Linked DNA regions of Homo sapiens: all the other regions are linked to region 2. Evidence: promoter capture Hi-C in human tissues and cell types (Jung and others, 2019). All regions are on one chromosome and are shown on one strand. Each heading gives the region's core, a stretch centred on a gene start or on the middle of the fragment in contact. The rest is flanking DNA. Distances are from core to core; before and after follow the strand shown. Region 1 has its middle 3.9 kb from the start of CYB5R1. Region 2 holds the start of KDM5B (lysine demethylase 5B). Region 3 holds the start of PPFIA4 (PPFI scaffold protein A4).

Region 1 (2,874 bases), core at 111-2,610, 160 kb before region 2:
CATAATGAGGATAGCATGGTGGCTCATGTCTGTAATCCCAACACTCTAGGAGGCCAAGGCGGGAGGATCACTTGAGCCCAGGAGTTCAAGATCAGCCTGGGCAATAAAGTGAAAGCTCGTATTTACAAAACTTTTAAAAAAATTAGCCAGGAGTGGTGGCACTTGCTTGTGGTCTCAGCTACTCAGGGAGGTTCAGGTAGAAGAATCGCTGGAGCCTGGGAGGTTGAGGCTGCAGTGAGCCGTGATCATACCACTGCACTCCAGCTTGGTGACAGAGGAGACTCTATCTCAAAAAAACAAAAAAAAAAAAGTAAAATCACAATGAGATACCTCTTCATGCCTATTAGAATGGCCAAAATCAAAAGTGCTGACAATACCAATTGCTAATGAAAATGCCGCAGCAATTGGAATTCTCATCCATTGCTAGTGGGAAGGCAAAATGGTATAATCACCTTGAAAAACAGTTTGGCAGCTTTTTATATAAAGTTAAATATACACCTTCCATGTGATCCGGAAATCACACTTGTGGATATTTCAGAGAAATAAAAACTAGGTTCACATGGAAATCTGCACATGAATGTTTAAAGCAATTTCAATCATCACCAAAAATTGGAAATAACTCAAATGTCCTTCAGCTGATGAATGGATAAACAAATTATGATACAGCCATACAACAGAATACTACTAGCAATGAAAAGAATGGACTGTAAATACACATGATAACTTGGATGAATCTCAAACTATGCTGAGTGAAAGAAATCCACTCAAAAGCTTACATATTGTATAGACTTTATTTATGTGACATTCATAAAGAGGCAAAAGTGTATTGACAGGGAACACATCAGTGATAACCAGGAGTTAAAGGTAAGGGGAGGATGTGGCCATAAAGGGATAGCATATGGGAGATTTGCAGGGTGATCAAACTGGTCTATTTCCTGATTATAGTGGTGCCACAAATCTATACATATTCTAGAATTCACAGAACTGTATGCCCAAGAGTCTATTTTAATGTATGACAATTACAAATTTAAAATGAGACAGCTGGGGCCAGGCGCAGTGGCTCATGCCTGTAATTCCAGCACTTTGGGAGGCCGAGCCGGGTGGATCACAATGTCAGGAGTTCAAGAACAGTCTGGCCAAGATGGTGAAACCCCTTCTCTACTAAAAATACAAAAATTAGCCAGGCGCCATGGCGGGCGCTGTGGAAGTCGCCTATAATCCCAGCTACTCAGGAGGCTGAGGCAGGAGAATCTCTTGAACCCGGGAGGCAGAGGTTGCAGTGAGCCGAGATCGTGCCACTGCACTCCAGCCTGGGTGACAGAGTGAGACTCCATCTCAAAAAAAAAAAAAAAAAAAAAAGGCCGGGCACGGCGGCTCATCCCTGTAATCCCAGCACTTTGGGAGGCCGAGGAGGATGGATCACAAGGTCAGGAGATTGAGACTATCCTGGCTAACACAGTGAAACCCCGTCTCTACTAAAAATACAAAAAATTAGCCAGGCGTGGTGGCGGGCGCCTGTAGTCCCAGCTACTCGGGAGGCTGAGGCAGGAGAATGGCGTGAACCTGGGAGGTGGAGCTGGTAGTGAGCCAAGATCATGCCACTGCACTCCAGCCTAGGCGACAGAGTGAGACTCCATCTCAAAAAAAAAAAAAAAAAAAAGAGACAGGTGGAACTTTGAACACTGACTAGCTATCTGATGAAACTAAGTAATTGTTGTTAATTATTTTTACATGTGATAATGGTATTATGGTTATTTTTAAGTCCTTAGCTTTTAAAGATACACACTAAAATATTTAAGGACAAAGTTATAAAAAATATGGGATTTGCTTAAAAATAATACTGGAGGAAGGAACGGACTGGGGAAGAAATGAAAGAAAGGTGACCATGATTTAATAATTGTTGAAGAGGGTGATGGGTACGTCGGGCTTTATTATACTGTTCTGTCTACTTTTGTATATGTTTGATAGTTTCCATACTAAAAAGTTCAGCCAGGCACGGTGGCTTACGCCTGTAATCCCAGCACTTTGGGAGGCTGAGGCAGGCGGATCACGAAGTTAGGAGTTTGAGACCAGCCTGGCCAACATGGTGAAACCTCGTCTCTACTAAAAGTACAAAAATTAGCCGGGGATGGTGGCGCATGCCTGTAATCCCAGCTACTCAGGAGGCTGAGGCAGAAGAATCACTTGAACCTGGGAGGCAGAGGTTGCAGTGAGTCGAGATTGCGCCACTGCACTCCAGCCTGGGTGACAGAGCAAGACTCCGTCTCAAAAAAAAAAGAAAAGTTCAAAAAGGGTGTGAGGTTGTTAGTTTTCAACATCAAGCTGCCTGGTATGCAGTCTGAGTTTGCCATTTAGTAGGTGATCTTGGGCAAGTGACTTACTTGTCCTAAACTTCAGTTTCCCCCCACTCCATAAAATGAGACTACTAATGATAATATCTATCTCACAGTTGTTGTCAGGATTAAATGGATGTTGTCAGAATACGTGAAAAGCAATTTACCTAGTTCTTGCTATATTGCACATGCTCAATAAATGTTAATTTTTTTGTCATTATTACATCTCCTGGTCTGATTCCTCCATGCCATCTCCTCAGTATGAGCAAGTCTTCCTCCAAGCTTCTTTCTGGATATCTTATCTAAAAAGGGCCACTGAGTTTTACATCCTAATTCAGAATTATAAAACACAGGTTTGAAATTCTACTTCCCCCTCACACTACATTATATATATATATTTTTTTAAACAGGGTCTTGCTCTATTGCCCAGGCTGGAGTGCAGTGGCGCAATCATGGCTCACTGCAGCGTTGATCTCCCAGGCTCAAGCAATACCCCCACCTCAGCCTCCTTAGTATCTAGGACTACAGGCCAGCGCCATCG
Region 2 (2,890 bases), core at 391-2,890:
AAGAAAAGGAATACGTTCTCCCAGGACCACTGTGAACTCTTTCCTGGGCCCGGTACCTCTGGGAAAAATTTGTTGAAGGGAAGGCGGTTTTCTTCTCCCCCCACGCCCATCCCCCCTTTTAATTGAAGACTTCTTAAGCATAAGAGATTTCCTTCCACTAGGTGAATCTGAAAGCGAACTAAGATCTTGACAAACATTCCTTGCATACGTTTGGCAGCTTTCTGGATGAAAGAGGTCATTTCAATGTTGACGTTCTACTTTTTGAGCTTCCTCCTTTTTTCTGAGGCTGCTGGACACTACCCCCCCACCCCCGTCCCCCGTCTCCCGCCAAAAGAAAAAAGGCGCCTCAAAAGTGTTCGTATCTCTTAAAGTTCGTTAACCTCTTTGCCTCCGTTGCCTGCTCTGCAAAATGAGGATAATATCGTACCTACTCAATATGGTGGTTGTGAAGACTCAGTGAGCTAATACATGCAGAGCGTTTAGAGCAGTGCTTTACACACAGTAGCATTAAATAGCGGCTATCACCCATAAGCACATAACTCCCAGATTTATATCTCCAATTCTGATCTCGCCCCTTCAGATTTATACCCTTCAGTCTGTTGAAGGATACCCCGTTGTGTATTTCTACCTGTATGTACCAGAGACACCTCAAATTCAAAATGTCCAGAAATGAACACAGTATCTTCTTCCCTTGAGTAACTCGCCTTCTGTATATAATTGGGGTGAATGTTCCAGCAATGCCAACGGGCTAGCATCTACTCAGGCAGGTACGCCAGACATCTGAATCTTAATACCTCGTCGTCCCCCCTCAATCTGTCACTATGTCCTAATTTTATTTCCTACCTTTGCATCCCTTCCTCATAATTATCAGCACCACTGCCTTAATTTAGATCCTATCATTCCTTGTCTGGATTATTTCAAGTCTTTCGCCCCTCTCAAGTCTGACCTCGTCATAGACTGTTTGTGGATGATTATTTTCCCTGCAACATCTCCACCTCCCAATAGTCTCCATCACTTATTAGCCATGTGAATTATGGCAAATTGCTTAACCTACCTATGCCTCACTTTCCTTATTGTAAAGTGGAAATAAGAGTACCTATCTCATAGGGTTGTGTGATTAATCATGCGATGCAATTAGAACAGTGCCTAGGATATGAAAGTGCCCCAAAATGTTACGTTATTATTATTATTACTACTATTGCCTTCTCATGAACATGCTATGTGTATGTTCAAGCTGTTATCTCTACTGGAAAATCCTTCTCCGTTTCCAATACTCTTTCCAAAACCCCCTCCTGGGTTTTACTGCACCTACCATTGTGTACTGACGTGATTGAATGATTGGCTTATGGGACTGATCCTTTCTACCAGACTTAACTTCTTCAGGGCAGGAACTCTGATACATAGTAAATGGTCAATAAAAGTTGGCTCAACTGAAACCCTAAGGATAAACTCCATCCACAGCGGAAGGCGCGGCCCCGCCCGATTCGGGGGCGGGGCGGGGAGCCGCGCGCGGAGGGTGGGTCGATGGGGGTGGGGTGGGACTCTTTTTCCTCGCCGTGGCGGCGGAGGCGCACGGCGTGGGCTTGCGGCGAGACGTCGTCGTCGGAGGCTGAAAAAGCCCAAGGTGCTGCCGTTGCCCGTACAACTCGGACTTGCTGTTGCTCGAGCCGCGTCTGCACGGGTCTCGGACCGAGCGGAGCTCGCAGCCTCGGTCCCGGAGCCCACCTTCGCCTCGCCCTTGCCCAGCCTGCGGTGATGGAGGCGGCCACCACACTGCACCCAGGCCCGCGCCCGGCGCTGCCCCTCGGGGGCCCGGGCCCGCTGGGCGAGTTCCTGCCTCCACCCGAGTGCCCGGTCTTCGAACCCAGCTGGGAAGAGTTCGCGGACCCCTTCGCTTTCATCCACAAGATCCGGCCCATAGCCGAGCAGACTGGCATCTGTAAGGTGCGGCCGCCGCCGGTGAGTCACGCCAGCACCCCGGATCCAGCTCGTGGCTGGGGGAGGGAGCGGGGACGCGCGGGTCCGGGGAGGCCCGAGGCGCGGGGGGCGGGGAGCCGGTCGCCCCGCCGGCCTCGTCAAGTTTGGGGCTGCCTAGAAGGTCGGAGTTGAGGCCGGGGGAGGAAGACGGGGGCTTCTCCAGGGTGGGAGATGAGGAGCGTGGGAGAACCGGGGGCTTCGGCGGTGCCATGGGAGGGCCGGGTCGCCGCGGGGCTCGGGCGGCCGGGTGCGGAGGTTCGGGTTCGGTTCCGGATGGAGTGATGGCAGGAGCCGGGGGTGGTCGCGGGGGAGTTTCCTCACGGAGCCTGGCGGAGGCGCGGGCTGGAGGGAGGACTGTGGGCCCGGCGAGGCTCGGCAGGCTGGTCCTCGCCTCCGCTCCCGGGGTGCGGGGGTGTGTGATGGGGTGGGGTGGGGGTGGGGGACTTGCGAGTTGTCGTGCGAGGAGGAAAGTTTTCAATATGGCGGCGGGAGCCCCTGGTCCTTTGTGTGGTGGCGGCGTCGGCCCGGAGCGGCCCTCACCTGGGCGCCCCACCCTCCAGACCAGGGCACCCCTCCACCGCCTGGTCCCCGGGCCTCCAGGTGTCCCCCGGGCCGGGGTCAAGAAGGGGGCGGCCAGCGCTGGCTGGGGGCGGGGAGGAGCCGCGGGTCCAGCCCCGGAGCGGATGTTTGTGGGGGGCGTTAGTGTCTGGGGGACACTTTTGGGGCGGCGGGGGCAGGACGGGCGGCGGTGGGCCCCGATGCCCGCCCGCGCTCCCGAACGCGCACACTCCCGGCTTCTTCTGGCTCAGCCGCTCGGCTCCCCGGGGAGGCCTGGGCTGTGCTGGTGGGGATGGGGTCCGGGCGAGGCCGTGTTTGTAGGGGAACGTCAGACGGAGAGACCTCCGAAGATTTC
Region 3 (3,054 bases), core at 483-2,982, 220 kb before region 2:
GCTCAGCAGCACAAACCCCAACTCCACTGGATGCGAATTCCCTTCTACACCCTCCTCCCCCACACTATTCCATCTTCCAGAGATGGCGTCTCCCACTACACAGAGTGTCTAGGACATTCTTGGCCCCCAATAACCATTTTGTCATTCATTATCTCCTTACTTTGAGATACCGTTTACCCCACGAAGCCTCCTCAAGCCTCAGGACAAAATCTGAGAAAATAACCAAGGGAAATCATTCAAGCTGCCCTTTTGCTTAGGCAGCTTCCCTGGGACTACCTGGCCAGTTAATAGTGGTAGGGGGTGTGTAGGTTGGAGTCTAATTCAGACAGCTGTTTGAAAGCACGTGGACACAGTTCTTTCTTTTTCTAATCCAACAGCAATGTAACAGAATGGGGATGGGCGGTGAGAAGGGTGTTAACAGAATACCTGCTATGTGTGCCTCCTATGTGTACCTTTCAGCTACTCCGTGGCTGTAAATTGCCTTCAGAAGACCTAGCACCGAGCATAGTATCTGGCAGATAGTAGGTGTCCAACAAATGTTTGCTGGATGTTGAGCAAAGTACTAGGTACCAGATCCAAGAACTCTGGAAAGGACTATGGGAAATCCCTGAAACCTGGCTCCTGGAGGGGACCCTTAAGCTCACACCAGGAGGGGATCTCCCTGCGAAGCAGCGCCTCCTTAACCACTTGCTCTCCACACAGAACGGCCCCAACTCTCCTGCTCCTCTGATGGAAACTACCAGCACACCTCTCCTCAAAGGTGACATCAGCTCCTAGTGGCACCTTGTCCTGGATCCCTCCTCCTTCTCGAAGAAAACCACCTACACCATGTCTCCAAGTCCTCCAGCCCGACCTCTCTCTTCCCACCCACCATCAAAACCTCAAAATCTGCGCTGGAAAACATCCCTACTGCGTGGACGTAAGTCAGCGCCCCACTCCCACCCTCCCAGTTCAGGCATCTCTATTCCAGCCCTCTTTTCCTGTTGCGCCCACCCCTGTCCCCACCCCCACCAGGCCTCGGGTTGGCCGCTCCTTCCACCCCACCGCCCTGGCACTGCGGAGATGGGGGCATCTCTGGCACAGACTGAGGCTGGCAGTTCGAGGAATGGAGAGCTAGCGACAGGAACAGGGGTGCTATGAGCAACTCGGGAAAGATTAAGACCCCCGCGAAGAGCGAAGACCTCAGCCCATCAGAATCGCGTCCCCAAAGGAGTGGGGTTGGCCCCGGAGCCGAGAGGCGCTTTTTCTGACTCTCCTGGAGGGGAAATGGGGGCGCAGTCTGCTCCGTTCCCACCGGGAGACTCGCCAACTCGGCCCCCTCCCCTGAAGCCGATGGAGCAGAGGGCGCACTCCACGCCCTCCCCGCAGATCAGGCATCGCCCCTATCCTCACCCCCAAGGGCACAGGGCACCGCAAAGGAGGGCGAGGGGCGGCAGGGTAAGCAGTACCGACGCCTGCCGGAGGTAGCACATACGGAGTCAAAAAGGGCTGTTTCCCGAGGTGCGATAGACGAGACCCCTCCCCAAACTGTCGAGGGGAGCTGGAGATGGGGAAAAGACGCATCCTACCCCAGTCCAGGCTCTGGGCGCTCACCTGCCTGCAAATGCCGAAGGCCAGGCGGCTAGGCTCGGAAGCAGCAGGGAGCCGCCCCCGACCCGTGCAGCCCGACACGTCCTAGAGCCGAGCCGGCGCCGAGGTAGCTGCAGCCTCCGCCGCCCAAGCGCGCGGCCGCGGGGCCCCGCCCCCTTCCTCCGCGGACAACCCCCCCCGGCTCCGCCCCCTAGGCGGGGCTGGGCTGCCGCGACCGAGGCCACGCCTCCCGCCCCCAAGCGCCTCGGGTCCGGGCACGTGACGAGAGCGCCGCTTTGAGGCCGCGCGCCATCTTGGTTCAGCCTAGGAGGTGGCGAAGTGCCAGAGTTTTATTCCGCAGAAGGGTCTCAGGGCCCAGGAGTGCTGCCCACATTCTGCCCCTCCCTCTGAACTCGCCCTTGTTCCTAGTCTAACAGCCCGTTCCCTAAATTGGCCTTAGTCTCGGCCTTGTAATTGTCAAGTTTGTCACCTTTCACGCTTGCTCTCCTGCCCGTTCCTTGCTTTTCCTTTGATCGCACCCATTTTTTAAGTGGGGAAACTTGATATCCGGATACTACATCTGTAGTATGCTCTTCAGTGAATTGTGTCGCTTGCCTTCAGGCACCTGGCTGTTCTAACACTGTTACTACAAAATGAAGGGTTTGTCTATTACATATACATAGTATGAAAACAAGTCTCAAATGCCAAAATTCCTGACTGACAAATTTTAGCTAAGCCTCTCCATTTTCCTGAATTGCTCCCTTACCCTGCCCCCTGTGGCTATTAATGCATCTTTTCCATCTGCTTTGTGAAGTTTCATCACAGTGCCTACTCAATCCTTTACCAATACCCAGTAAGCACCACTAAAAGTGTGAACAATTTTTATATACATGCAATGTGTTCATGTGTGTGTATTTATAGATATATACACAGCATGTTCTATATCAGCAGCAAATGCTATAGTTGAGATCAGTGACACATACAACCTTCTCTCATTTATCTTCCACCCAATATATTCACCATTTGGCATAATTTCCTTGCGTCTCTTTGAAGACAGGGAAATCTTGAGTAATTCTGATCTGAGGGGTGGGTAAGTGAAGCTAAATCTGTGACCCTTGAACAACAGGGCCTTCAACTGCACAGGGCCAGTTGCATGCAGATTTTCTTCCTTCCCCGCCACCCCTGAGACAGCAAGACTACCCCTCCTCTTCTTACTCGTCAGCCTGCTCAACATGATGACCCACTTAATGAACAGTAAATGTATTTTCTCTTCTTTGATTTTCTTAATAACATTTTCTTTTCTCGAGCTTATTATAATAAGGTATATACTACATATACAAAATGCACATTAATCAACTGTTTATGTTATCAATAAGGCTTCCAGTCAACAGTAGGCTATTAAGTTTTCGGGCAGTCAAAAGTCATAGCAGATTTTCAACTGTGTGAGGGTCTGTGTCCATAACTCTCACAGCGTTCAAGGATCAA

The links. The method cuts DNA at HindIII sites, captures the fragments that hold promoters and counts their contacts. A contact is called where the count stands out against the background at its distance.
Region 1: a contact is called between a fragment that was not itself captured here and the fragment with the promoter of KDM5B in region 2, in 1 of the 25 tissues and cell types used here (liver).
Region 3: the fragment with the promoter of PPFIA4 here is called in contact with the fragment with the promoter of KDM5B in region 2 in 1 of the 25 tissues and cell types used here (IMR-90 fibroblasts).

The regions. Positions count from the first base shown.
Region 1 is chr1:202,969,741-202,972,614 of GRCh38, reverse strand. No RefSeq gene overlaps it. Among named protein-coding and RNA genes, the nearest start is that of CYB5R1, 3.9 kb to the right of the region's middle. The HindIII fragment of the contact is 4,279 bases long and covers 1-2,874 here.
Region 2 is chr1:202,807,171-202,810,060 of GRCh38, reverse strand. KDM5B (lysine demethylase 5B) reads left to right here and starts at 1,640. Exons shown (of 27, transcript NM_006618.5): 1 at 1,640-1,959. The coding sequence starts at 1,756. RefSeq lists silencers at 1,626-1,835, 1,866-2,065, 2,466-2,585, 2,686-2,755. The HindIII fragment of the contact is 12,124 bases long and covers 1-2,890 here.
Region 3 is chr1:203,025,169-203,028,222 of GRCh38, reverse strand. PPFIA4 (PPFI scaffold protein A4) reads right to left here and starts at 1,732. Exons shown (of 30, transcript NM_001304331.2): 1 at 1,594-1,732. RefSeq lists an enhancer at 1,285-1,806 and a silencer at 1,633-1,942. The HindIII fragment of the contact is 14,289 bases long and covers 1-3,054 here.